Regions from separate parts of the Homo sapiens genome. Here region 2 is linked to region 1. The links are contacts of gene promoters, found by promoter capture Hi-C in blood cells and fetal thymus (Javierre and others, 2016). All regions are on one chromosome and are shown on one strand. The core of a region is centred on a gene start or on the middle of the fragment in contact, and the rest is flanking DNA. Distances in the headings are between cores, read along the strand shown.

Evidence for each region. Contacts are between HindIII fragments. The CHiCAGO score rates a contact against its expected background, and 5 or more counts as called.
Region 2: a contact is called between a fragment that was not itself captured here and the fragment with the promoter of C19orf12 in region 1, in 1 of 17 cell types (total CD8 T cells). The highest score is 7.1, in total CD8 T cells.

What each region holds. Positions count from the first base shown.
Region 1 is chr19:29,714,011-29,717,636 of GRCh38, forward strand. C19orf12 (chromosome 19 open reading frame 12) reads right to left here and starts at 1,251. Exons shown (of 3, transcript NM_031448.6): 1 at 1,115-1,251. RefSeq lists a silencer at 786-1,575 and enhancers at 1,746-1,845, 2,391-2,610. The HindIII fragment of the contact is 2,629 bases long and covers 1-2,537 here.
Region 2 is chr19:32,355,950-32,361,747 of GRCh38, forward strand. It overlaps ZNF507 (zinc finger protein 507), which reads left to right. Exons shown (of 7, transcript NM_001136156.2): 4 at 667-784; 5 at 4,555-4,669. Among named protein-coding and RNA genes, the nearest start is that of ZNF507, 13 kb to the left of the region's middle. The HindIII fragment of the contact is 197 bases long and covers 3,469-3,665 here.

The DNA.
Region 1 (3,626 bases), core at 1-2,500:
TCTCTTTCCCTCTCCCCTTCCTTCCTGCTTTTTGTTGTTGCTGGTGTTGTTGTTGTTTTTTCCAGAAACGCAGTCTCCCTGTGTTGCCTAGGCTGGTCGGGAACTGGCCTCAAGCAATTCTTCCGCCTCGGCCTCCCGAGTAGCTGGAACTACAGGTGCTATTCCAAGATGGTGAAACCCCGTCTCTACTAAAAAATACAAAAATTGGTCGGGGTGGCTCACGTCTGTAATCCCAGCATTGCAGAAGGCTGAGGCAGGTGGATCGCAAGGTCAGGAGTTTGAGATTAGCCTGGCCGATATGGTGAAACTCCGTCTCTACTAAAAATACAAAAAAATTAGCCAGGCTTGGTGGTGTCGCCTGTAATCCCAGCTACTAGGGAGGCTGAGGCAGGGGAATTGCTTGAACGAGGGAGGTGGAGGTTGCAGTGAGCCGAGATCGCGCCATTGCACTCCAGCCTGGACAACAGAGCAAGACTGTCTAAACAAAAGCTCAACAAACTACCTGCCATCCCCAAAACTAATCTCACCTCCTAAAGCATTAACGACCCTTCCTGACCAAATCTAAACTAGCGCCCAGATTTTCTTCCCATATGGCTCAGCCCAGCTCCGCTGCCCCACAGGTGTCCTGTCAGGATCCGCTTCACATTTATAATACCTAGCACCCCACCCCCAGCCCCGCCCCTGCCCCACCAGCCACCCCCACTCTACCCCACCCCTACCCATCACATTCCGCACCCCACCCCCGCCAAACCCACATCCCCACCCCACCCAACCTCACCCACTCCCACCACATCCACCACCCGCACCCCACCCCCACCCACCACACCCATGCCTACGCCACTCCTGGGTGACAGCGAGCCAGGGCCCGGGACTCTAGTCCCAGCTCTGCTGCTTACTTGTGTGACTTCAGCCTCTCCATGCCTCAGTTTCTCCATAGGGACAATGACTACACTAACAGTGTCCACCCCGGCACCGGGAGGGCCGGGCTCCCGGCAGGGCGGGGACCCTCTCCCCAAGGCACTCCCGGGTCTCCAGGCCTGCTCTTGGGGTGCCCCCTCCTCTCGCGGGGCGCGGCCTGGGAGGCGCCCCGCCCCGGCTCCGGGCGCTCCTTTACCTGGGGGAGCGGAGGTCTACGCGGCGCGCTCGGCGATCAGACGCGGCTGCAGCCCGGGCCTGGCAGGCCCCGGGCTCCCCGCCCAGCTCCCCAGCCCCGCGGAGGGTCGCGCAGGCCTTGGTGGCGGCCCCGGCGCTGGCCCCGCCCTCCGTCCCACCTTCCGGCTGCGCCGGGCCTTCCGGGAAGCCACGCGCCGGGCCAGCTCCTGGCTCCGAGCTGCGCCCGGCCTTAGGGGGAGCCGGGGGTCGCTGCTGGGCACCCCCTCCCCGGTCCTGGCCCACCCCGCCGCTGTCACCGGGGCCCTGGCTTGGGTTGCGGGTGGCGTAAGGAGACGAGGCGCCCGGAGAAGAGTCCTGGGAACCGCAAGGCCGCGCTCCCGCAGGCCCAGCCCTGCCTTTCTCCCACGCGCACGCATGATCACATCCGGGCCCCGCGCACCTGCCTCCAGGACCGCGGGGACCTCCCGGAGACCTCCCTCCCTTTGGCCTGGAGGACCCCTCTCTCCCCGCAGCCTGGGCACAGAAGAGAGCACAGGGGCATCTGGAGGTCAAGGGTGCTGCGTCAGTATTTGGTGAATGTGTGGGCCGGAGCCAGATTTCCTCTGTTCCAGAGCCTGCTCTGGAGCCTCTGGGTCTGGGGGTTGCAAAAGGAGAAGCAGGTTGGGTGGGACTCGTAATCCCAGCTGCCAGTGAGGCTGAGGAGGGAGGATTGCTTGAGCCCAGCAGTTCGAGCGTGGGCAACACAGTGACATCCCATCTCTACAAATAATAATAAAAATTAGGCCGGGTGGGTGAGTCATACCTGTGACCTACAGCATTTTGGGAGGCTGAAGCGGGAGGATTGCTTGAGCCCAGGAGTTCGAGGCTGCAGTGAACTATGATCCCACCACTGCACTTCAACCTGGGTGACAGAGTGAGACCGTCTCTTAAAGAAAGAAAAAAAAGGAAAAGAACTGGCTTTGCTCTTAGGAGTCTTGGATGGGGACCAAAGCTGAGGCAAGGCAGCCTCTTAGGAAGGTGCAAAGGGCATGAGGCTGGGGTTGCAGAACTGCCTGGGAATACTACTTTATTGAGGCCTGTGGAAAGCTGTCCCTACTCTTGTCATGCAAGGTCTGGCCTTGAACCATCTCAAATCCAAAAGTGGCTTCTGGGGGGCTCTATAGAGAATTAATCCTAACAGGAACCCTGCAAAGCAGGCATGGTTGTCACTGCTATATTACAGATGGGAAGCTCTAAACACAGGCTGCTCTGCCCAAGGCCATCCTGGTTAGAAAGTTTCAGGGCCCAAACTCCAGCCTCGGTCTCGGTATCTCAAAGTCTCCGCCTGTGACCAGCACTCTGCCTGCTTTCCAGGGTGCCATGGGCACCCAGAGGACGGACCCTTTTCCATTTTTAAAAGAATGGAACAAACGCTCTTAATACCAAGCTTCCCCAGGCCTTGGCTGGGATAAAACAACCCCATTTATTCCTGAATCGGAGCTTTTGCTTGAGTTTGGGTGACTTTCAAGAGGGAAAGTGAACTGAGGCCAGGGGAACTCAGCTTGCTGCCTTCCTGGGGCCTGAGTGTGGCGCTCCCGTTTCTCTGCGGGCAGCTCCCTCTGGCGGCACATTGCAGAACTGGCCTGCAGACTCCTCCCCCAGAGATAGTGGGGAAGAGGGCCTGTGTAGGGAAAGATGCTGGGAGTGAAAGAAGCTTCAAAGTCCAGGCCCTCCAGAGAAGGCAAGCATGTAAGAGGTTCATGCAGCCCAGCGCGGTGGCTCACACCTGTAATCCCAGCACTTTGGGAGGCCGAGGCGGGCAGATCACCTGAGGCCAGGACTTTGAGACCAGCCTGGGCAACATGGTGAAACCCCATCTCCACTAAACATGGAAAAATGAGCCAGACATGGTTGGTGCAAGCCTGTAGTCCCAGCTACTCGGGAGGTTGAGGCAGGAGAACCGCTTGGACCCGGCAGATGGAGGTTGCAGTGAGCCGAGATCGCGCCATTGCATGCAAATCTGCAACCCATCAGCCTCCTGGGCCTCATTCTGATACGAATGCAGGCATAACATGACCGCACACTCTGAACCCCAGAGATGGAGCACACAGTGCCTCATGCTCCTAAAGGCAACTGCGGCCTCCTGCACAGTGAGCAAGGCGTGCCGTGGGGTCTCGGTGGTGGCGCGGAAATGGCACTGGCCCAGCACACAGCGATGCTTTATGCTGCTTACAGTGACCTAGGGAAAGTTCTTCCACGTCTCCGTGCCTCAGTTTCCTCATCTGGGAAATGGCAACAAGAGTAGTACTTATCCTATAGGGTTGTTCTCAACATAAAAGGAGGTAATATATATGAATCTAGATTATTCTTGTTTACATTACAGAATGTGAAAATGAGCGGCTTCTCCAAAGTCCCATGAGCCTCATGGGCCCAAGGTAGTGGGAAATCCAGTTCTACCCCCACCTTGACAAAACATTCTCTTGCTGATGGGCCCAACAATGCCCTAGGGTGCTAGGTGGTGTTCACACGGCCAG
Region 2 (5,798 bases), core at 2,317-4,816, 2.6 Mb after region 1:
GATCATGCCGCTGCACTCCAGCCTGGGCAACAGAGCGAGACTCCATCTCAAAAAAAAAGGTAACAGGAATAAGAAAGCCCTTGAGTCTGAGGTTCACTGCTTCTCAGATTACACTCATGAAATTCCAAGTAGGATGTCCACATAGGCTGCAAAGACAAGTTCCTGAAGTCTCCAGGAGTTTCTTTTGCTACTGAGCTCTTGATTCATGGGAATGGAAGTAGAGGAGACAGGATGTCCTTGGAGGAGCACTTCCAGTTAGATCTCTTACACATTTAGATATTTCAATGAAAAATTAGGAGTCTGGTGATTACTGATTGGATTTTTTTTTGTGAAGTTGCATTATTCTGAACACTCTGCTCGTTCCTCCTCTGGGCCTACCAGTGTTTCAGTAAATACGGACACGCCCTGTGTAATCACCTAAGAAAATGGTGACTTCCTTTCAGAGAATATGAAGAGGAACTGTCCGTTGAATGTGATTATGATTTGCTAATGTACTTCTTTCTATAAATTGTCAAATGTGTCAAATGATCCTTTAGCAGACTTGATTTTAAAATATGGTAATTCGTTGTACTAGGCCATGAAAGCAATGAACCTGTTCTTCTACAGCCTCCTAAGAGTTGGACATGTATATTTATTGAAAATTACATATTTCTTTCCACTTTTTAGAGTCAATTGAGGAACCATGAGAGAGAACAGCACAGTCTTCCAGATACCTTGTCAATAGCAACTTCTAATGAGCCAAGAATTTCCAGTGATACAGCTGATGGAAAATGTGTCCAGGAAGGTATCTATGTATTTTGTTATGCAGGCTGCAGTGACTTGCACATGACATAAAAGTGCCCTTAGTTGTCATGGTTGGTTATTTTCAGGGCAAAAGCCTATATTCTCCTCCATTTTTGTACCATGGATGTGAGTGAATCTGATCTCTGTTTCTGAGGAAATGCCAAGTACTGAATGAAGCAGATGATTACTAGGTCCTAGGTGAGAAGCCCTAGATAGTAAGGATTCATCTTCAGTTGAAACTTAAGAGCCCCTTAGAAGGTGATGTACCAGCAAGCCAGAAAAGCAAGCCAGAAAAGCTACAACATGGAAAACAGGCCTCCCCTCCCTCTCTCGGCACCAGTTGACCTACTGAGAACAGAGCTTTTGCAGATGGTAGGCCCCCACCCCAAACTTTAACTGGGGCTCCCCGCTGTGATCTTATTCTTACCCAAGTATGACTGCCAGATTTCATCTGCATTATTAAAAAAAAAAAAGCACACACACAGACACACAAGATCTTTTTATGTACTAGTTAAGTAGCAGTCAACCGAGTTTCTGGTAATAAGAATATTAGAATCAAAAGATTTAATTAGAGCTCCATGAAAAGGCGGATGCCACATCCGGAGAATTAAGGATAAAGTGTACTAAGCTGTGCCGCTTTGGTTCAGCTCACTTAAATTGATATACTTTAAATGTCTCCAGTGTGGCACATAATGTTTATGGGAGATAAGACATATTGGGGTGACTTTCCCTTTTAGATTTGCTAAGAATTAAAGTTAGAAACGACTACAGAGTGAAATGTTTTACCATAATGTTTCATTAAATTATACCCCAGAAAGCATAACTGATTCTAGAATGCTTCTGAAAGAACTGATTTTGACACCACTGTAGCACCAAAATTCTCATGTCAAACAGATGTCATCCCTGTAAAACTCTCTGAAACAAAAGGAGTTTATGATATAGCATCTGTTTTTGCAGTAGATGGCTGAGCTAAAACAGTTTTGTTTCCTTTTTACAAAATAGCCCTAAATGCCTCCTTTTATTTTAATTCATTATGTTTCCATATCCCCTTTAAAGGAGACATTAAAACGTCTGATATGATTGGACCATAAATCCCTAATGAAAGGATGAAGTAAATACTACTCAGTAGCACCACCTGCAGTTAATATCAGTGTTGGAAGATGTCTTTTTTAGCACCGTCCTAAAAAGCAAACATTTCAAACTGTCCAAATGAGTTAACATTAAAATTCACAATTTTAATAAAAAGATTAAAGTGTCAGCTCAAAATTAAAATAACCACTTCAGACTTTACAGTATTAATGAATGTTTACTAGATTTTATGTTGCAGCATCTTTTCTTTGTGGCTCATGCTTTTTTTTTAGGGTTACATGCATGGATTTTTAAATTGCCTGCCATGCCTCTTTTCCTCCACCTGGCTCCATTTGCTTTTTTCTCTCAGTACTGTAGCAGTTCAAATGGCTGCATACTTATACCTGGATGGGTACTTTATTAACTCAATATTAGATATTTTGAAATCTGGTTGTCAGGCCAAAGAAAAAATTTTTAGCTCACAAATAAGGTAATAATAATTCATGCTTTGTTAAAACTTCTTTACCTATTTAGTAAACTTGTTAAACAAGAAGAGAGATTTGTGCCTCTGTGATCCTCAGTCTCTGCCATTCAGATAGCACAGATACCTTAGGGCATGTTTCAGCTTAACATTTGCTTGGCCAAAAGGCATGGCCTGCCTGTCTTGAGCTAGATACTGTGTTAGGTGCTGGGAGTACAGTGAAAGGCATCACTGCCCTTCAGGAATCCAACTCAGTGAAGAAGACAGAACGAGGCTGATGGGTATGTCAGCAGATACCGCAGGAGCTCAAATAGAGCCGCAAGCAAAGCCCTTTCGTATGGTGTTACTCCATGAAACCTAATTAAATTGTTTTTTATTGGAAACCTATAATTTGCCAAGCGCTGGGGATTCAGTCTAAACAAAACAAGCAGATCCTTATCCTCAGGGAATAGACAGCTTAGTGGCAGGGCAGAGATTTTACCCAGACATGCAGGTAAAGTACAGACTTTGCTAAAGGAAAAATATAGGACTTACTAAACTATGCTGTGAGGTTCTAGCATTTCCAATTTGTAGATGAGAAAACTGAGACTTCAAGAGGCAAAATAATTTACCCATGATCATACTGGTAGAAAGTGGCAGAGCGAGGACTAAGCCCAAGTTTTTGAACTTTAAATCCAATATTCTTTCCATTGGAAACAGTTGCTTGAAGTAGCACAGGCTCTCATTCTGTGCTATATTAAGTTTTTCCATCTGTCAGTTTTATTAGTTGTCATTGATCTGTAATATTTCTCACACAAAACCATTATCCAATATTTCACACTTCATTTTTTAGGGTTTTTTTAAAACTGTATTTGGAACAGTGCCATTTATAATCAAGTCCAAGTTTTTAACCTACCAATTAAGAGCAATACTTAGATTATAATTATGATTAGTGTGTATATTAACGTTATAGATTTATACCAGGAAATTAGGACATTTTGTTCTGCTTGGCAGTAGTTATTAGCAAAAGAAAATTTCAATTTTAGAAACCGTAAATTTAACTTAAGGATTTTCTTTGTTGAAATTTCAGTGTGGGTTTTCCTTTGTATAATACCACGGATTTTACTTTTATGCGGTGTATACAGGTGTTCTACCTAAGCTTTCTTCCTGCCAAGAGACACACAGTTCTTCCTGCTCTGCCTTTTTCATGAGCTTCCATGCTTGCTTTGTTTCTGAATATAAAGCAGAGTGTGAATAGCCTGTGGACTGTATGCTGACAGACAAGTACATGAAGCGTTGAATATCTTCAAGAAATCGTTTTATATGATCAAGTCACTCAACTCGTGTTGACATAAGCTTACCCCAACTTGAATTACTCAGCCCTGTTGTTGCAGAGTGAGTTTAGTAACATGGCTACTTTTCGTTGGATCCATGTCTCCTGCGTTTCGGAGAGCTGCATATTCATGTCAGTCATAACCTTTGTCCCTGTAACCTGTCAGTTAACTAGAAAGAATTATACATTGCATAGCACTTAAAAATTTGCGGCCGCTTTTCCTTTCTTGTTGCGTTGGTAGCTGACGTTTAGTGGTAAACAAAGAAAATGCACTGGGTGAAAAGGCCTTAGGCTTTTTTTTTGTAGGGTGAGAGTGGGGGAGAGATCTCTTGCTCTGTTGCCCAGGCTGGTCTCCAGCTCCTGGCCTCCGGCAGTCCTCCCACCTCAGCCTCCCAGAGTACTAGGATTATGGGCATGAGCCACCACACCTAGCCAGGCTTTTTATATTGAGTTGGTTATATATGCTTCATAGCCACACTTTATAATATTGGAGTATAGTATTAAATTACAGCTTGTTGTCAAGTCAGTGTTTCTGTAAGACAGTATATCCAATATTGGTTAGAGTAACACCTATTTGGTGATACAGATCAACAGGGTGTCTCTGATTAATTTAGCTCCTACATAGCCAGAAGCAAGTTCATTATGACTTAGAATATTGTACATGGTTATGCAGGAATCATCCCAACCTATCTGTGTTTATAGGTCAGATGATGTTCAGTTTATATCTGCTGATAGTGTATATGCAGGAAAACCTATAAAACCACTTCAGACTTGTTAAAACAGTGAGAAAGCCGTGATTGAAATATTAATACAACTGTGTGGTATAAATTTTCATTTACAATGGAATGTAAATGCTGTCATTTGAATCTTGTCAAAGCCTGCTACTAAAACTCTGAAATACCTTGTCTAGGGAATAAGTCTTCAGTCCAGAAACAATATAGATGTGATGTGTGTGATTATACAAGTACAACATATGTTGGTGTCAGAAACCACAGGCGAATCCATAACTCTGATAAGCCGTACAGGTAAGTGTTATGATTCTAGAATTTTAATGTTTGTATTAAAATATTTTATATTAAAGAAATAAAATGAAATAAAAATGTATAGCACTTACTGAAACACAGGTTAAGAAGTAAGAAATTTTCACTAATTGGTTTTATATTTTGTTGTTTTATATATTTACTTATTTATTTTTTGAGTCAGTGTCTTGCTGTATTGCCCAGGCTGGAGTGCAGTGGTATGATCACAGCTCACTGCAGCCTCGAACTCCTGGCCTCAAGGGATCCTCCCACATCAGCCTCCCAAAGTGCTGGGATTGCAGGCGTGAGCCACTGCACCTGGCTGGTATTATGTCTTGTTTGATTTGTTAAGATGTGAACTTTAAGCTTGAATCTTAGGACAGTAGGCATTTTGTCTAGTTGATACATAGGAAATTGTCTTTATCTGTCAATTTTATGTTTTCATTTCATATGGGTATAAATTTCATAGCAATTTTCAATGCCTTAGAGTTCATTTCAGTAATTTGGCAGTAAGGTACTCAGTATTCAGCAAAAGATCCTTAAAACTTAAAGGCAATAAAATTTTCTATGAAAGAGTCCATTTTTCAAAATTAAGCTAGTATGTGTAGAATAAGTCATTTAATTTCATTACTTGATTTTTCCCAAAAGCAAATTCAGATATATATTTCAGAAAATATAGGCATTCTCAGTGATAGTGCTAGGCAATGCGCATGAACTTTCACCCCCTTGTCAAAACTTAGCAGGTTTAACTCTCTCCCCAGATTCTGTAGATATGATACAAGTGAGTGTGGGAAAGTTATTGTATTAATCTCAATGAAAACCTGACAGATTGTGCCATAAAAGGTCATTGTTTAATCCCAAAGTGTGGTGATCTGTGTATGGTTTCGAATATTTAATATGTGCTTAATTTGCAAACCAGCAGACTTACTTATAATCACTCTTCAGAAAGTACATCTGTTTGCAGAGTCTTAAAACTCTGTGGAAGGTGTTTGACCTTGCCTCAGTCCTCCTCAGTGTCTTCCTTCCTTCCTTCTTTCCTTCCTTCCTTCTTTTCTTCCTTCCTTCCTTTCCTTCCTTCCTTTCCTTCCTTTCCTTCCTTCCTTTCCTTTCTTCCTTTCCTTCCTTTCCTTTCCTT